Linked DNA regions of Homo sapiens: all the other regions are linked to region 2. The links are contacts of gene promoters, found by promoter capture Hi-C in blood cells and fetal thymus (Javierre and others, 2016). All regions are on one chromosome and are shown on one strand. Each heading gives the region's core, a stretch centred on a gene start or on the middle of the fragment in contact. The rest is flanking DNA. Distances are from core to core; before and after follow the strand shown. Region 1 overlaps OR1F1 (olfactory receptor family 1 subfamily F member 1). Region 2 holds the start of ZNF597 (zinc finger protein 597). Region 3 overlaps MEFV (MEFV innate immunity regulator, pyrin). Region 4 overlaps ZNF200 (zinc finger protein 200).

Evidence for each region. The method cuts DNA at HindIII sites, captures the fragments that hold promoters and counts their contacts. A CHiCAGO score of 5 or more calls a contact.
Region 1: a contact is called between a fragment that was not itself captured here and the fragment with the promoter of ZNF597 in region 2, in 10 of 17 cell types (erythroblasts, M1 macrophages, monocytes and 7 more). The highest score is 9.8, in erythroblasts.
Region 3: a fragment that was not itself captured here is called in contact with the fragment with the promoter of ZNF597 in region 2 in 12 of 17 cell types (total CD8 T cells, monocytes, total CD4 T cells and 9 more); the score reaches 9.0 in total CD8 T cells.
Region 4: a fragment that was not itself captured here is called in contact with the fragment with the promoter of ZNF597 in region 2 in 8 of 17 cell types (monocytes, fetal thymus, M1 macrophages and 5 more); the score reaches 8.1 in monocytes.

The regions. Positions count from the first base shown.
Region 1 is chr16:3,201,485-3,205,069 of GRCh38, reverse strand. OR1F1 (olfactory receptor family 1 subfamily F member 1) reads right to left here. Exons shown (of 4, transcript NM_001370640.6): 4 at 1-835. The coding sequence starts at 823. Among named protein-coding and RNA genes, the nearest start is that of TRP-AGG1-1, 11 kb to the right of the region's middle. The HindIII fragment of the contact is 1,050 bases long and covers 877-1,926 here.
Region 2 is chr16:3,441,777-3,445,159 of GRCh38, reverse strand. It overlaps ZNF597 (zinc finger protein 597), which reads left to right and starts at 1,656. Exons shown (of 4, transcript NM_152457.3): 1 at 1,656-1,800; 2 at 1,954-2,039. The coding sequence starts at 2,007. It overlaps NAA60 (N-alpha-acetyltransferase 60, NatF catalytic subunit), which reads right to left and starts at 1,480. Exons shown (of 8, transcript NM_001083601.3): 1 at 1,323-1,480. RefSeq lists an enhancer at 1,247-1,396. The HindIII fragment of the contact is 9,083 bases long and covers 612-3,383 here.
Region 3 is chr16:3,242,327-3,245,762 of GRCh38, reverse strand. It overlaps MEFV (MEFV innate immunity regulator, pyrin), which reads left to right. Exons shown (of 10, transcript NM_000243.3): 7 at 1,175-1,290; 8 at 1,477-1,509; 9 at 1,871-1,903; 10 at 2,069-3,436. The coding sequence ends at 2,622. Among named protein-coding and RNA genes, the nearest start is that of ZNF200, 8.9 kb to the right of the region's middle. RefSeq lists an enhancer at 1,242-2,441. The HindIII fragment of the contact is 4,878 bases long and covers 1-3,436 here.
Region 4 is chr16:3,220,173-3,223,523 of GRCh38, reverse strand. ZNF200 (zinc finger protein 200) reads left to right here. Exons shown (of 5, transcript NM_198088.3): 5 at 1-1,199. Among named protein-coding and RNA genes, the nearest start is that of ZNF200, 13 kb to the left of the region's middle. The HindIII fragment of the contact is 4,719 bases long and covers 1-3,351 here.

The DNA.
Region 1 (3,585 bases), core at 152-2,651, 240 kb after region 2:
TAGCCATAGTGTCTTTCTCAGCTGAGTGGGAGGACAGAGGGTTAAAATACACAGCAATGATGGTGCTGTAGAAGAGGAGAACCACAGCCAGGTGAGAACCACAGGTGGAGAAGGCTTTCCACCTTCCCTTTGTGGATGGGACCTTCAGGACAGTGCAGGTGATGTGCATATAAGAAGCCAGGATGCAAAGAAATGGGGTGATCATGACCAGGGCACCCTCACTAAGGATTATGACCTCATTGAGGTGTGTGTCTGAGCAGGAGAGTTTCAGTAGGGGAGTCACATCGCAGAAGAAGTGAGTGATGGCATTGTCTGCACAGAATGAGAGTGGAGCCATCAGCAGGGTGTGCAGAAGGACATTCAGGTTGGCAACCACCCATAATCCAGCAACCAGCAGGGCACAGAGCTGATGGGTCATCTTTGCTGTGTAATGTAAGGGGTGGCACACGGCGACAAAGTGGTCATAGGCCATCACAGCTAGGAGGAAATTGTCCATGTCCACGAACATGAAAACGAAATACATCTGTGTGAGACAGCCACAGAAGGAGATGGTCTGAGTCTCGAGTATGTGATTGGCCAGCATCTTGGGGACGGTGGTGAAGGAGAAGCAGATGTCCACAAAAGACAGGTTGCTGAGGAAGAAGTACATGGGGGTGTGCAGGCAGGAGTCTATGCTTACGGACAGGATGATGAGCAGGTTCCCCAGGACAGTGGCCAGGTACATGCTGAGGAAGAACACAAAGAGGAGATGCTGCTGCTGGGGCTGCCTGGAGAGTCCCAGGAGGAGGAACTCGGAGACACTCGACTGGTTTGTCCCGCTCATGGGCCTGGGATCCTGGACACAGAGGCAGACAAAGAAGACGAAATGCAAAAGCTTGGAAAATGCTGGTTAAGATGGGGCACAGGAATGGCAGTAGAATTTTGCTTGCAGGATGTAAATGATAATATTGTCAACCCTGCTGGGGCTGCTACTGCTATGTTCAGGGCTCAGGTTTACAGAAGTCTGAGCCAGGCCTTCTTGGCTATATCCACGGAGCACCCTGAGTCCAATTTGTAAAATTAAAATGGAACAACCCAGAGGTCTGGGCAGAAACTCAGTCAGTTTGTGTTCCCCACAGTTCAGGATGTCAGACAGACGGGACAGAGGCTGGTCCTGACTGGGTGATTGCAAGGGACTGCTGCTGAGCTCAGGACTGTTTTTCTGGCTCCACATAATTGAAAGGAAGGAGGGTCCCTCTGAGGCTTTAAGTCCTGACAAGCAGTTATCAGTGAAGTCCCACTGATGTGACTCTTTTTATTTCTTTTTTTAAACGGAGTCTCGCTCTGTCGCCAGGCTAGAGTGCAGTGGCGAGATCTTGGCTCGCTGCAACCTTCAGCTCCCTAGTTCAAGTGATTCTCCTGCTTCAGCCTCCCAAGTAGCTGGGATTATAGGCACGTGCCACCACGCCCAGCTAATTTTTGTATTTTTAGTAGAGACGGGGTTTCACCATGTTGGCCATGATGGTCTCTATCTCTTGACCTCGTGATCCGCCCGCCTTGGCCTCCCAAGGTGCTGGGATTACAGGCGTGAGCCACCACACCTGGCCAATGATCTGACTCTTACCCAGAAAGAGCAGCAGTCCTCACTGTCTCCTGAAGTCCTGGGTTGGCTTCCCTTTTTCAGACCTGGCCAGAGGTTATTGGTCTGAGGGAGGGTGACTCGTCACTGGAGCTTTGAGGCTGAGTATCTCATGAATCAGGAGCTGGGCTGCACAGACTCAGCCCTTGATGCAGGAAGGATGTTTGGAAGAATCACAGGGCAAGCTCTTCACAGGAGCCTCCATGGCCACTAGGGTCATATTCCCTGAGAGCCTCATTGAGAAAAGCAGAGAGTAATTGTCCCTTCCCCTCCTTGGCTCTTTTGTGTCCGACACTGACGATAAAGCTTTGTCATACATAATTCCTGCCTCAGCACTTGGCAACACTGAAAGTGATGCAATCTAAGGGGTAATCATTGGCAACAATCCTTCTGCTAGAGGAAACTCACGACCCTGTATTTTATCCCCCACCCAGCTGGGATGCTGATCTTGTTGGGAGATACCTGTGAAGCTGTACTGGGATTAAGAAGATAACCTTTGGATTTTCACAGACCAGCACTCAATTTCCAGATCCACCATTACCAGTTGTATAGCCTTAGAAAAGCTAGTAACCTCCACTGAATCACCAGCTCCCATCATCTATAGAGTGGAGAAATAATATTCACCTTGTAGGGTTGTAATAACTAAACTAGGTAATTTATGTTAAATATCTCGTGACTCTTAACCTCATCAATGCACTGGGCTAAGACCATGTCCACTAGGTGAAGGCTGAAGATATTAAATTGTTATTATTATTATTATTATTATTATTATTATTATTATTATTATTATTTTGAGATGGAATTTCATTCTTGTTGCCCAGGCAAGGTACTACAGGCGTGCACTACCATGCCCACCAGGCTGGGCAACAGAGCGAGAATTCGTCTTAAAAACAAACAAACAACAAGAACAACAAACAACCCATAAAGCTAATTACGAAAGATCTGGGGAGGAGGAGGAGAATGGACACTGAATTAGCAAAGACATTATTTGCAAGCGATAGAAAACCAACTCATATCAGCCTAGGGAGAAATGACAGGTTAATGTCATTACAAAATCCAAGGTGTCTTCTTGCAAAGCCTTTGTGTTTCAGGCCAGACCAAATTCAGGGAGCTGAATGATAACATCAAGACCCTGTATTTCTCTATCTCACTACTGCATTGGCTTCTGCTCAGCTTCATTCTGCAGATTACCTCTCCTCATGTGGCAGCAAGATGTCCAACAGTGGCTCCAAATTCACATCCTTCCAGACTAGCAGCCACAGGGCACATGAAACTTCCCTCTACCAATGTTTATTTATTAATAACATTGTACTGATGCAGGACAAGCGAGCCCCAAAGTGAGGCCTAGTCTGCAAGGGTTCTTGGCTTTGCCCAGGAAAGAATACAAGGGCGAGCCAGTGGTAGAAGAAAACAGCTTTACTAAAGCAGCAGGCAGTGTTACAGCTGCCTGACTGCTCCTGCAGAGGAGGGCTCCCCCATAGGCAGTGTGCTGAGAGTAACAGCTCTAGGGAGTTTTGCAGCCATATTTATACCCATTTTTAAGTACATGTAGAATAAGGTGCAGTTTATGCAGAAATTTCTAGGGAAGGGGTAGTAACGTTTGGGTCACTGAGTCATTGCCATGGAAAGGGGCAGTGACGCCTGGGTGTCACTGGTGGGTATGTCTTATGGAAAGCTGCTTCCGCCCCATCTCTTTTAGCTAATCCTCAATTTGGTCCAGTGTCCGAGCCCTGCTTCCTACCTCAACTCCAGGTAAGGTTGTGATCATCCCTTCGTGGGTCATGTGTCCAAACCTGAACAAACCATTCTGCATGGAAGAACAGAGTACTCTCATCATTCTGGATCATCAGCTCAATCCATTCCATGCGGGAATCCAGTGATGGACATTGTCACCAGGACTAAATGGAGGAGGATAGGAATTCCCCTTTTCCTCCACGTATTTGGCAATAATTAAACAAGCAGACAAA
Region 2 (3,383 bases), core at 407-2,906:
TATGCTTTGGACTGGTCTAGCCTGTAGGCAAGTTTGTTCTTACCATTCTTCCACCTGTCCTGGAAGCACCTTTACTGGGACTTCACAGCTACCTCTTTTGTGATCCATCCCCACAAGGTCTAGCTCTTAGTTAGCTGTCAAGAGATATCATTTGTGGCAGATACTGCTAGTTTCTTATCTAACTTATTTTCCACATCTCTTTTTTTCATTTGTAACAAAGCCCTAATTTTGTGCAGGTAGATTATCAAGGGAGGCTAGGTCCTTCCCCTAGTGACAGGGGCTGAAGCATGATGGGCCCCAAACAATTATTTATTCTTGGTAATAACTAGTTTAGGATGGGTACATGACACAATACATGTCTGTATATTTTACCTGGATTCTATTGTCAACGTTACCAACATGCTTAGGGTGGCAGAGAAGCACTGGGACCTTGATGTTGTCACTGGGCCACCGAATTAACCAACCTGTAACTGCTCTTTGAACATCCTTTCGGTGGGTTTTCTGTTACTTGTAGCTGAAACTATCCTATCAGATATTCCACAAAATCACATTACCTAAGTTGTCAAATCTCCTAATATTGTTTTAATAACCATGCAGCCATTCATTAAGCTTTTAGATACAGGAATGTGCCTGGCACTGGAATAAGGAAATATGTTGAGACTTTTCAGGCTTTTCTATCAAGGTACCTATCATTTTCGTCTTTTTTTTTCCCCAAACACCTTTATAAACTGGCAATTTCTTTCACTTACATTATCTTATAATCTTTGAAATTACCCTCTGAGTTAGCCCAGAGAGGCACTCTGAGCTGTTTGCAGCTGAGGAAAGCAAAGTTGTAAACTGGCCAAGATTACCAACCAATCAGTGGCAGAGCTTGGGGAGGAGCTCAATTTTCCAATTCCAAATGCCTACACCAGGGCACTCCCTCCTCCCCCAGCACACAATAGGAAATGACTGGCTCTAGGGTAGGCTGCATGTGAGGTATCCGGGGGCGAACAACGTCCTGCGACGCTAACCTATGGCTCTATTCTCGCGTGGGATCCTGTGACTAGGAAGCTGAAGCAGCTCGCTTAGGCTGCAGCTGCGGGTACAATACGTAATGCCTCTATAACACTTTGAGTCAGAGTCCAGCAACCTGGCCTACACCGATGTGAACGTTGTGAACGTACACAAAGATACTCCTTCATGTTCCACGGCCCCACCATCCGCTCAAGACACAAAGGACAGCTCAAGCCCAGGCTAGGCCCGAACCCCCGCCCTCTCAATCACCTTGCTCTGGCCAGACCGAAATTTCAGGCCTACAGGGCACTGTTGGCCGAACCCACATTTTGTTACCGATTTTCTTTCGAGTTCCGGTGTCTCCCAGTCTTCTTTCTGTCCTTCTTCTCGGAAACATTACGTCCCCCTGGGGTCACCCTAAGACTCTACTTCAGCAGGCAAACAGGCCCGGAGCTCACGGAGGAGACCCCGCCAGCGGAAGCGGAAATGGTTGCTTAGAGAAAAGGAGGAAAACTACCTCTCGCAGCTGCCCAGTGGCTACAGGTCCTCGGTTAAGGTGTTCAATTGGTCAACACAAAAGAAGGACTTCCCCTTCGGGAGAACTTCGACCAATCAAAGGGCAGGATGGCGGAGAGGGCTGAGGGCGGGTCGCTTCCGGCGGCTTTTCCCGCAGCTCCTGCGTAAAGGAGCATGAGAGCGTGGGAGTTTTGCAGTGGCCGTGGCGTTCTTCGTCGCGTCTCGGTCGGGCGTCGCTTTCTGCAGCTCCTGTCAGGGAGCGCGAGGCCTGTTATTAACCGCGGAGCGGTAAGTGGGCCCCTTTCGAGGCCGGGCCAAGAGGAGGAGCAGTCGGCGTAGGTTTTTAAGGGGGGGTTCGGAGGGAATCGAGGGAGGCTAGGGGTAGTGGAGGAACTTGGCAGCGGAATTGGTCCCTTTAAGAACTGTTCTCTCCCCCCGCAGCTTTGTCACGAAGTCCCTGTGGCGTCTTGAAGAAGGCATTCCCCACCCGCCAAATGGCGTCCATGCCCCCGACGCCCGAGGCCCAGGTGAGTCGAGGTACCTTTTTCGTCCAAGTTTATTGCTGCTTTCGGTCTCTGCCTGACCCCCTCCTTTGGAGGAGAGTTGGGCATGCCTGTTGTGGTAGGAGTGCTCCTGAGCCCCAAATAGCCCTTTGACCAAGTGTTCTTCGTTCCAAGACCACACACATAATGGTTTACCAACTTCCTTCTTTCAGAACTACCAACTGGGAGCAGGGACCTGTGGAGGAATCTCTGAGAGAGTTTCTCAATGTCTTATCTGTTTGTTTTGTTTTGTTTGGAGATAGGGTCTGGCCTTGTCGCTGGAGTGTTGCTTGTCTGGCTGGAGTGCAGTGCTGATATCATAGCTCCGTCTGGAACTCAGGGAATCCTTACGCCTCAGCCTCTCGAGTATCTGAGAGGCGCGCATACCACAGTGTCTGGCTACTTTTAAAAGTTCTTTTTTTTTTTTTTTTGATACAGAGTCTCGCTCTGTCGCCCAGGCTGGAGTGCAGTGGCGCGATCTCGGCTCACTGCAAGCTCCGCCTCCCGGGTTCATGCCATTCTCCTGCCTCAGCCTCCCGAGTAGATGGGACTACAGGCGCCTGCCGCCACGCCCTGCTAATTTTTTGTATTTTTAGTAGAGACGGGGTTTCACCGTGTTAGCCAGGATGGTCTCAATCTCCTGACCTTGTGATCCGCCCGCCTCGGTCTCCCAAAGTGCTGGAATTACAGGTGTGAGCCACTGCGCCCGGCCTAAAACTTCTTTATGGAGATGGAGTCTTGCTGCTTTGCCAAGGAACTCCTGGCCTTCAGCTATCCTCCCACCTCGGCTCCCCAAAGTGCTAGGATTAAAAGTGACTTTCTGGAATGGTTCCCAAAATTACAGATTTGGTACTTCTCCAATTTGAATGAATTTTTAAATTAAGCACATTTCTAGACTCCACACTCGTTGAGTAATAATAAATCCCAAGTGATTAATTTATCACACCGTTAGAGAAGGTGGGGTAGGCCTGGATGAAGTGCTGGAGTGAGCTTAGCAATGAGTGTCATGGGGACGAGAGGAAATAGCAAAGGGAAGGATGTTGGGAGAATCCTGTAACCTTTATCTCTTTATGATTCTTCCTGGGCTGCCCAACTTTCTCCTTTTCTTTTCTTTTTTTTTTTTTTTTTGAGACAGTCTCGCTGCGACGCCTAGGCTGGAGTGCAATGGCGCGATCTCGGCTCACTGCAATCTCTGCCTCCTGGATTCAAACGATTCTCCTGGCCCAGCCTCCCAAGTAGCTGGGACTACAGGCGCATGCCACCACATCTGGCTAATTTCATTTTATTTTAATTTATTTTTTGAGACAGAGTTTTTTTTGTTGTTGTTTT
Region 3 (3,436 bases), core at 779-3,278, 200 kb after region 2:
ATCCTAATTCTCACAGGGGCTGCATCGCTTCACATTCCCACCAGCAGCACACAGGGGCTCCAGTTTCTCCACATCTTTGCCATCACTTATTTTCTTCTGTTTCACTCTCTCTCTCTCTCTTTTTTTTTGAAGACAGCGTCTTGCTCTGTCATCCAGGCTGGAGTGCAGTGGCGCGATCTTGGCTCACTACAACCTCTGCCTCCCAGGTTCAAGGGATTCTCCCACCTCAGCCTCCCTAGTAGCTGGGACTACAGGAGCGTGCCACCATGCCCAGCTAATTTTTTTGGTAGACAGGGTTTCACCATATTAGCCAGGCTGGTCTCAAACTCCTGACCTCAAGTGATCCACCCACCTTGGCCTCCCAAAGCGCTGGGATTGCAGGCGTGAGCCACCGTGCCCAGCCATTTCTCTTTCCTTCCTTCCCTCCCTCCCTCCCTTCCTTCCTTTCTTCCTTCCTTCCTTTCTTTTCTTCTTGAGACAAGGTCTCACTCCCATCACTAAGGCTGGAGAGCAGTGGCACAGTCACAGCTCACTGCAGGCTCAGCTTCCTGGGCTCGGGTGATTCTGAGTAGCTGGCATCCTGAGTAGCTGGGACTACAGGCATGTGCTACCACTTCCGGCTACTTTTTTGTATTTTTAATAGAGACAGGGTTTCGCCATGTTGCCCAAGCTGGACTTGAACTCCTGGGCTCAAGCGATCCCACTGCCCCGGCCTCCTGAAGTGCTAGGATTACAGGCATGAGCCACCATACCTGGTCTATTTTTTTCTGTTGTTGCTGTTTTTATAATAGCCATTCTAATGGATGTGAAGGGATATTTTGTTGTGTGTGTTTTTTTTTCATTTATTATCTTTTTATTTCAATAGAAAGAAAGGGGTGTATAATCAATTTGACATAGATAATTCTAGTAGATAATATCAATGTCATTTTAAGTCCATTCTGAAAACTCCTTGTGGTTTTGATATCCATGTCTTTAAAGCACCCCAGTACATGACAGTCTGTGGCCAAAGTTGAGGACCAGCATTTAGACCTCTGAATCCAGGGAAGACTTTTCTTTGTGTAGCTCAGGCTGGGCTAGGTGTGCCCTGTGGAGAATGTAGTTCATTTCCAGCTCACGGGTACTTGGGCCACCCCCTCGCTCCGGCCTTCTCTGGTCAACAGTCTTTTGTCTCTAGGGCTAAGACAGTGCCTGTCCCTGAAAAGTGGACCACTCCTCAAGAGATAAAACAAAAGATCCAACTCCTCCACCAGAAGTCAGAGTTTGTGGAGAAGAGCACAAAGTACTTCTCAGGTAGATGGGCTTGGGAGAAGATTGGAGGTGCATGCTCACTTCCTCCCTAAGATCCACATAGCCCAGAGCCCCTCACTTCCCTCCTCTTCCCCTGGTCTTGCTGACCTGCCTTCAACCTCTCCTCCATCTGTCCCTGGCTGAGGGACCTAACTCCAGCTTCTCTCTGCTCCCTTTCCCACATTTTAGAAACCCTGCGTTCAGAAATGGAAATGTTCAATGGTGAGTCCAGCGGTAATGGTGTGTGCTGGCCTGGGGTTGTTGCAGTGTTCCCTTGTGCTGTTGACTTGAGGGGCCCTATTTAGAAGACAAAAAAAAAAACCAAACACCTGGAGCAAAGGTAGGAGAAAGGTCATGGCAGGCCCCCCAGGCTCTGTGCGTGACTCATTGACTGAGTTGACTCATTAGACCACAGTCCCCAACATGGCCTGGGTTCCTGGGAGGAACGGGATTATACCCAACATAGCATGCAGGGCCCTAAGCAGGGGGTTCCTTGTCTTTCCTTGTTGTCAGGACAGTGTAATTTAGCCCCTCTTAATGCTAATGCTCAGGATTTTTTTCCCTATCTGATTTTTCTCCGTAGTTCCGGAGCTGATTGGCGCTCAGGCACATGCTGGTAAGTGCCCAGATCAAGGCAAGTGGCCCTGGCCTGCTGGATCCCTGTGCTCTCCCCTACCACGTTCCAGAAGAACTACCCTGTCCCTGTTTCCTGCAGGTGGGGAGAACCCTGTAGGGATGTTGCCCATGGACCCCTACCTAGGTATTCAAATTTTCTTTGCAGTTAATGTGATTCTGGATGCAGAAACCGCTTACCCCAACCTCATCTTCTCTGATGATCTGAAGAGTGTTAGACTTGGAAACAAGTGGGAGAGGCTGCCTGATGGCCCGCAAAGATTTGACAGCTGTATCATTGTTCTGGGCTCTCCGAGTTTCCTCTCTGGCCGCCGTTACTGGGAGGTGGAGGTTGGAGACAAGACAGCATGGATCCTGGGAGCCTGCAAGACATCCATAAGCAGGAAAGGGAACATGACTCTGTCGCCAGAGAATGGCTACTGGGTGGTGATAATGATGAAGGAAAATGAGTACCAGGCGTCCAGCGTTCCCCCGACCCGCCTGCTAATAAAGGAGCCTCCCAAGCGTGTGGGCATCTTCGTGGACTACAGAGTTGGAAGCATCTCCTTTTACAATGTGACAGCCAGATCCCACATCTATACATTCGCCAGCTGCTCTTTCTCTGGGCCCCTTCAACCTATCTTCAGCCCTGGGACACGTGATGGAGGGAAGAACACAGCTCCTCTGACTATCTGTCCAGTGGGTGGTCAGGGGCCTGACTGAATGCCCAACACTGCATCTCTCTTCCTGCTTCTGGCCTTGTATCTTGCATTCACACTCAATAGTCACGGAATGCCGACTAGGTGCTAGCTGCTATGGGAAATGCAAAAATAACAAAATAGTTACTGTGCCCACGGAGCCTACCCGATTATAGCAGAGGTAAGTTAGGAACGAACATGTTAGTCAATCCGGGTGAAGACATGTACTGATGACACACCATGGATTTCAGAGGAGGAAGTACGGAGTCGTTGCATAATCCGCCCCTGGTGGGTGGCACTCTCAGGTGCTCCTGAACAGAAGATTTGGCCCTCATTTTCCCTCAGAACCCCACGGCAAGGATATATGTCCCCTTGTTCTCTCTGCTTCTGTCTTGAGGATATGGGAAGCCTAGAGAAACGCAAGCAGACTGGATTGGGATAGAAGTATTTGTGTACCTGGATTAATGAACTATGATTTTTTTTTTTTTTTTTTGAGACCAAATCTTGCTCTGTGGCCCAGGCTGGAGTGCAGTGGCACGATCTCAGCTCACTGCAACCTCCACCTCCCAGGTTCAAGCGATTCTCCTGCCTCAGCCTCCTGAGCAGCTGGGATTACAGGTGCGTGCCACCACACCAGGCTGGTTTTCTTGTATTTTTAGTAGAGACGGGGGTTTCACCATGTTAGCCAGGCTGGTCTCGAACTCCTGACCTCAGGTGATCCACCCGCCTCAGCCTCCCAAAGTGCTGGGATTACAGGCATGAGCCACTGTGCCCGGCCTATGATTCTTTTTTTTTTTTTTTTTTGAGACAAAGTTTTGCTCTTGTCACCCAGGCTGGAG
Region 4 (3,351 bases), core at 420-2,919, 220 kb after region 2:
CATGGGGATTCATACTTGAGAAATAGTGCAAAGATGCTTATCTGGAACTGTGTTCTGGTGAAAGAACCAAATTACTGGCTTGTTAGCCAACAGCTTCTGATAGCAATTCATATAACCCTCTAAGAATACCTGTTTAAGTCTTGAGTGTTGAAAGGAATTGTTTACTTTGGAATATAGGAAAACAGTTGAATGTCAGACTCTCATTTGTATGTGATCTAAATTTGCAATCAATTTCAATAATATTTACAATTTGTGATAAAACTGACTTTTACAGATTCCTTTTCACAACATAATTTAGGTGTCTACTGTTCTTATTGTATTTTGTTCTGCTGTTGATCTCTCCAGCAGCCGTCTCATGCTTCTCCCTTGCTAAAAGAAGTTTGGATTACTCAGGCAGGGCCATCCAGCCCCACCACTAGAAAAGCTCTTCAGAATCTTGTCCCTCTGTTGAGCCCAGATCTCATGTGCTACGAAGGAAACCCCAAGACCCAGAGAGGAAGGGTCAACCTGGAGGCAGGAAAAAGTTGGCTTGGATCCATGTCTCATCAATAACCTTACCATATGCTTAGGTCCCCTCTATGCTGTCATCAGACCTTTGGCAATGGGGTGGTCACTACCTCACAAGGCAAAGTGTTGTATGATTAGAAATTACGTCTCCAGTGGTTAGCTCACATTGCCTCTCAAGAGACAGGTTTCCAGGTGTCTTCATTGTAGTGGGTATTAATTGTCTTCAGCCTCTTGATATCCATACCTTCCTGTCCTCTGCCTAGAAGCAAGGCCAGCGGTGCCTTTACGGACTGATCGTGTGGTGCGATTTAGGGATTCTTCAGTTTTGCTTGCTTTAGGTTTCCAAAAGTTATACATTGGTGTTTTGATTGGAATAAAGAAATCCTATAAGCTATTTGGGAAAAATTATAGTGTATGTTTCCCATCCAGAAACATGCCTTTCTATTTATTAGAGTATTATATTCCTGTGAAAATTTTTCTAATTTTCTTCACTTGTTTTACACAATTTTGTTATTGTAGTTTTTTCCATTATATTTTTATAGTTGATTATTGCTTTTACATGGGAAAGTTATTTTTAATTATATATTTGTATAGTCATCTCACTGTTGTTAATTTTCAATAGTTTGTTGGTTTAGTTCTGTTAACTTTTGGTAAAATGACACCATCTACAAAGAATAGTTTTTGTTTCTTGCCTTCTGCCTATTGGTCTTTTTTGTTTTGTTTGTTGTTATTAACATGTAATTCTGAGGTTTCTTGTTTTGGCACAAAGCATTCTGAAAGAAGGACATTCTATGATACAGTTCAGTCCTGAATCGTAATTTAAAAACAACAAATCCTCCACAACAGAGAAAGGCCACAGAAAAACTGTCTTTACCAACATTGTATTTCAGGCCAACAGGAAGTACCCTGTAAAGCCAGCAAAGCGAACAAAACAGGCTGCCCACAACGTTATTCGCTTATTTGAAAGTCTGACCAGTGCACTAGGACTGGGATCCTGAACTGTGTTTCCAGAGTCGGCAGGCTGTTACCATGTGCAGTGGACCTGCCTGTGCACCCAGAAAAGTAGCTGCCAGGAAGTGAGTGGTGAGAGAGAGTCTCCACTCACTCTTTGGTACCCCTGCCCAGAGTCGGGTATTTTATCAGTCCTCATGCAGCCATGGCACAGTACCCGAGACAGTTAATTTTTTCTTTGAGACTGGCTCTGTTGATAAGGCTGGAGTGGGGTGATCTTGGCTCGCTGCAACCTCCCGCCTGCTAGGCTCAAGCGATCTTCCTGCCTCAACCTCTTGAGTAGCTTTTCGTTTAAGTGTAGGTGGGTGAAGCCACCACAACCCACACCATCTCATGTGTAGGGGACCTGCCCATGCATCCAGAAAAGTAGCTGCCAGGAAGTGAGTGGTGAGAGAGAGTCTCCACTCTCTCACTCTTTGGCAGCCCTGCCCAGAGTCGGGGGTTACATCAGTTCTCATGAAGCCATGGCACGGTACCTGAGACACTTTTTTCTTTAGTTGAGACTGGCTCTGTTGCTAAGGCTGGAGTGGGACGATCTTGGCTCACTGCAACCTCCACCTCCTAGGCTCAAACAATCCTCCTGCCTCAGCTTCCTGAGTAGCTTTTTGTTTTTTTAAGTGTAGGTGGGTGAAGCCACCACAACCCACACCATCTCCTGGACTGGGGAGGTGCCCACGGTCAGGGTTGCCGTCAATCAGCACCCAGTGTCCCAGAGGGCAGGACATGGGCCGCAGGGTTTCCTTCCGCAATAGTGAGGCTGGGTGGGAATGAGAGGAGCGCCCCGACCAGGACCAGGGGCCGCCCCCAAACACGAGAGCCCCTGGGAAGTTGTTGGATGAGTAAGTTCTGTTACCTAAGGAGCCTGATCACCAGTTAAGTTGAAAAAGTAAACAACAGTGAACAGTTTCCCAATATAGCGGTAGAGCGAGAGTTGGAAAATGTAAGAGACCAAAGATCCAATTCCAGTAGTAACTACAGAAAATAAGCCAGGCGCAGTGGCTCACACCTGTAATCCCAGCACTTTGGGAAGCCGAATCAGGAGGATGGCTTGAGGCCAGGAGTTCAAGACCAGCCTGGGCAACATAGTGAGACCCTGTCTACGAAAAAAAAAAAAAAAAAGATTTGGTTGAGTGCAGTGGCTCAACGCCTATAATCCCAGCACTTTGGGAGGCCAAGGCAGGTGGATCACCTGAGGTCAGGAGTTCAAGGCCAGCCTGGCCAACATGGTGAAACCCCATCTCTACTAATAATACAAAAAGTAGCCAGTTGCGGTGGCAGGCATCTGTAGTCCCAGCTACTCAGGAGGCTGAGGAAGGAGGATTGCTTGAACCCGGGAAGTGGAGTTGCAGTGAGCCGAGATTATGCCACTGCACTCTAGCCTGGGCTATAGAGTGAGATACCATTTCAAAAAACAATTATTTTTAAAATTTAAAAAACATTATCAAGACGGCATGGTGGCATGTGCGTGTAGTCCCAGCTACTTTGGAAGCTGAGGTGGGAGGATTCCTTGAATCCAGGAGTTAGAGACCAGCCTGAGCAACTTACTGAGACCACATCTTTTTTTTTTTTTTTTTTTTTTTTTTTTTTAAGAAACAGGGTCTCACTCTGTTGCGCAGACTGGAGTACAGAGCTGTGATCATAGCTCACTACAGCCCTGAACTCGTAGACTCAAGAGATCCTTCCGCCTAACTCTCCCAAGTATCTGGGACTACAGGGACATGCCACCTCACCCAGCTAATTTTTTTATTTTTATTTTTCTAGAAACGCGGTCTTGCTATGTTGTCCATGATGGCCTCAAACTCCTGGGCCCAAGTGATCCCCCTGCCTTGGCCT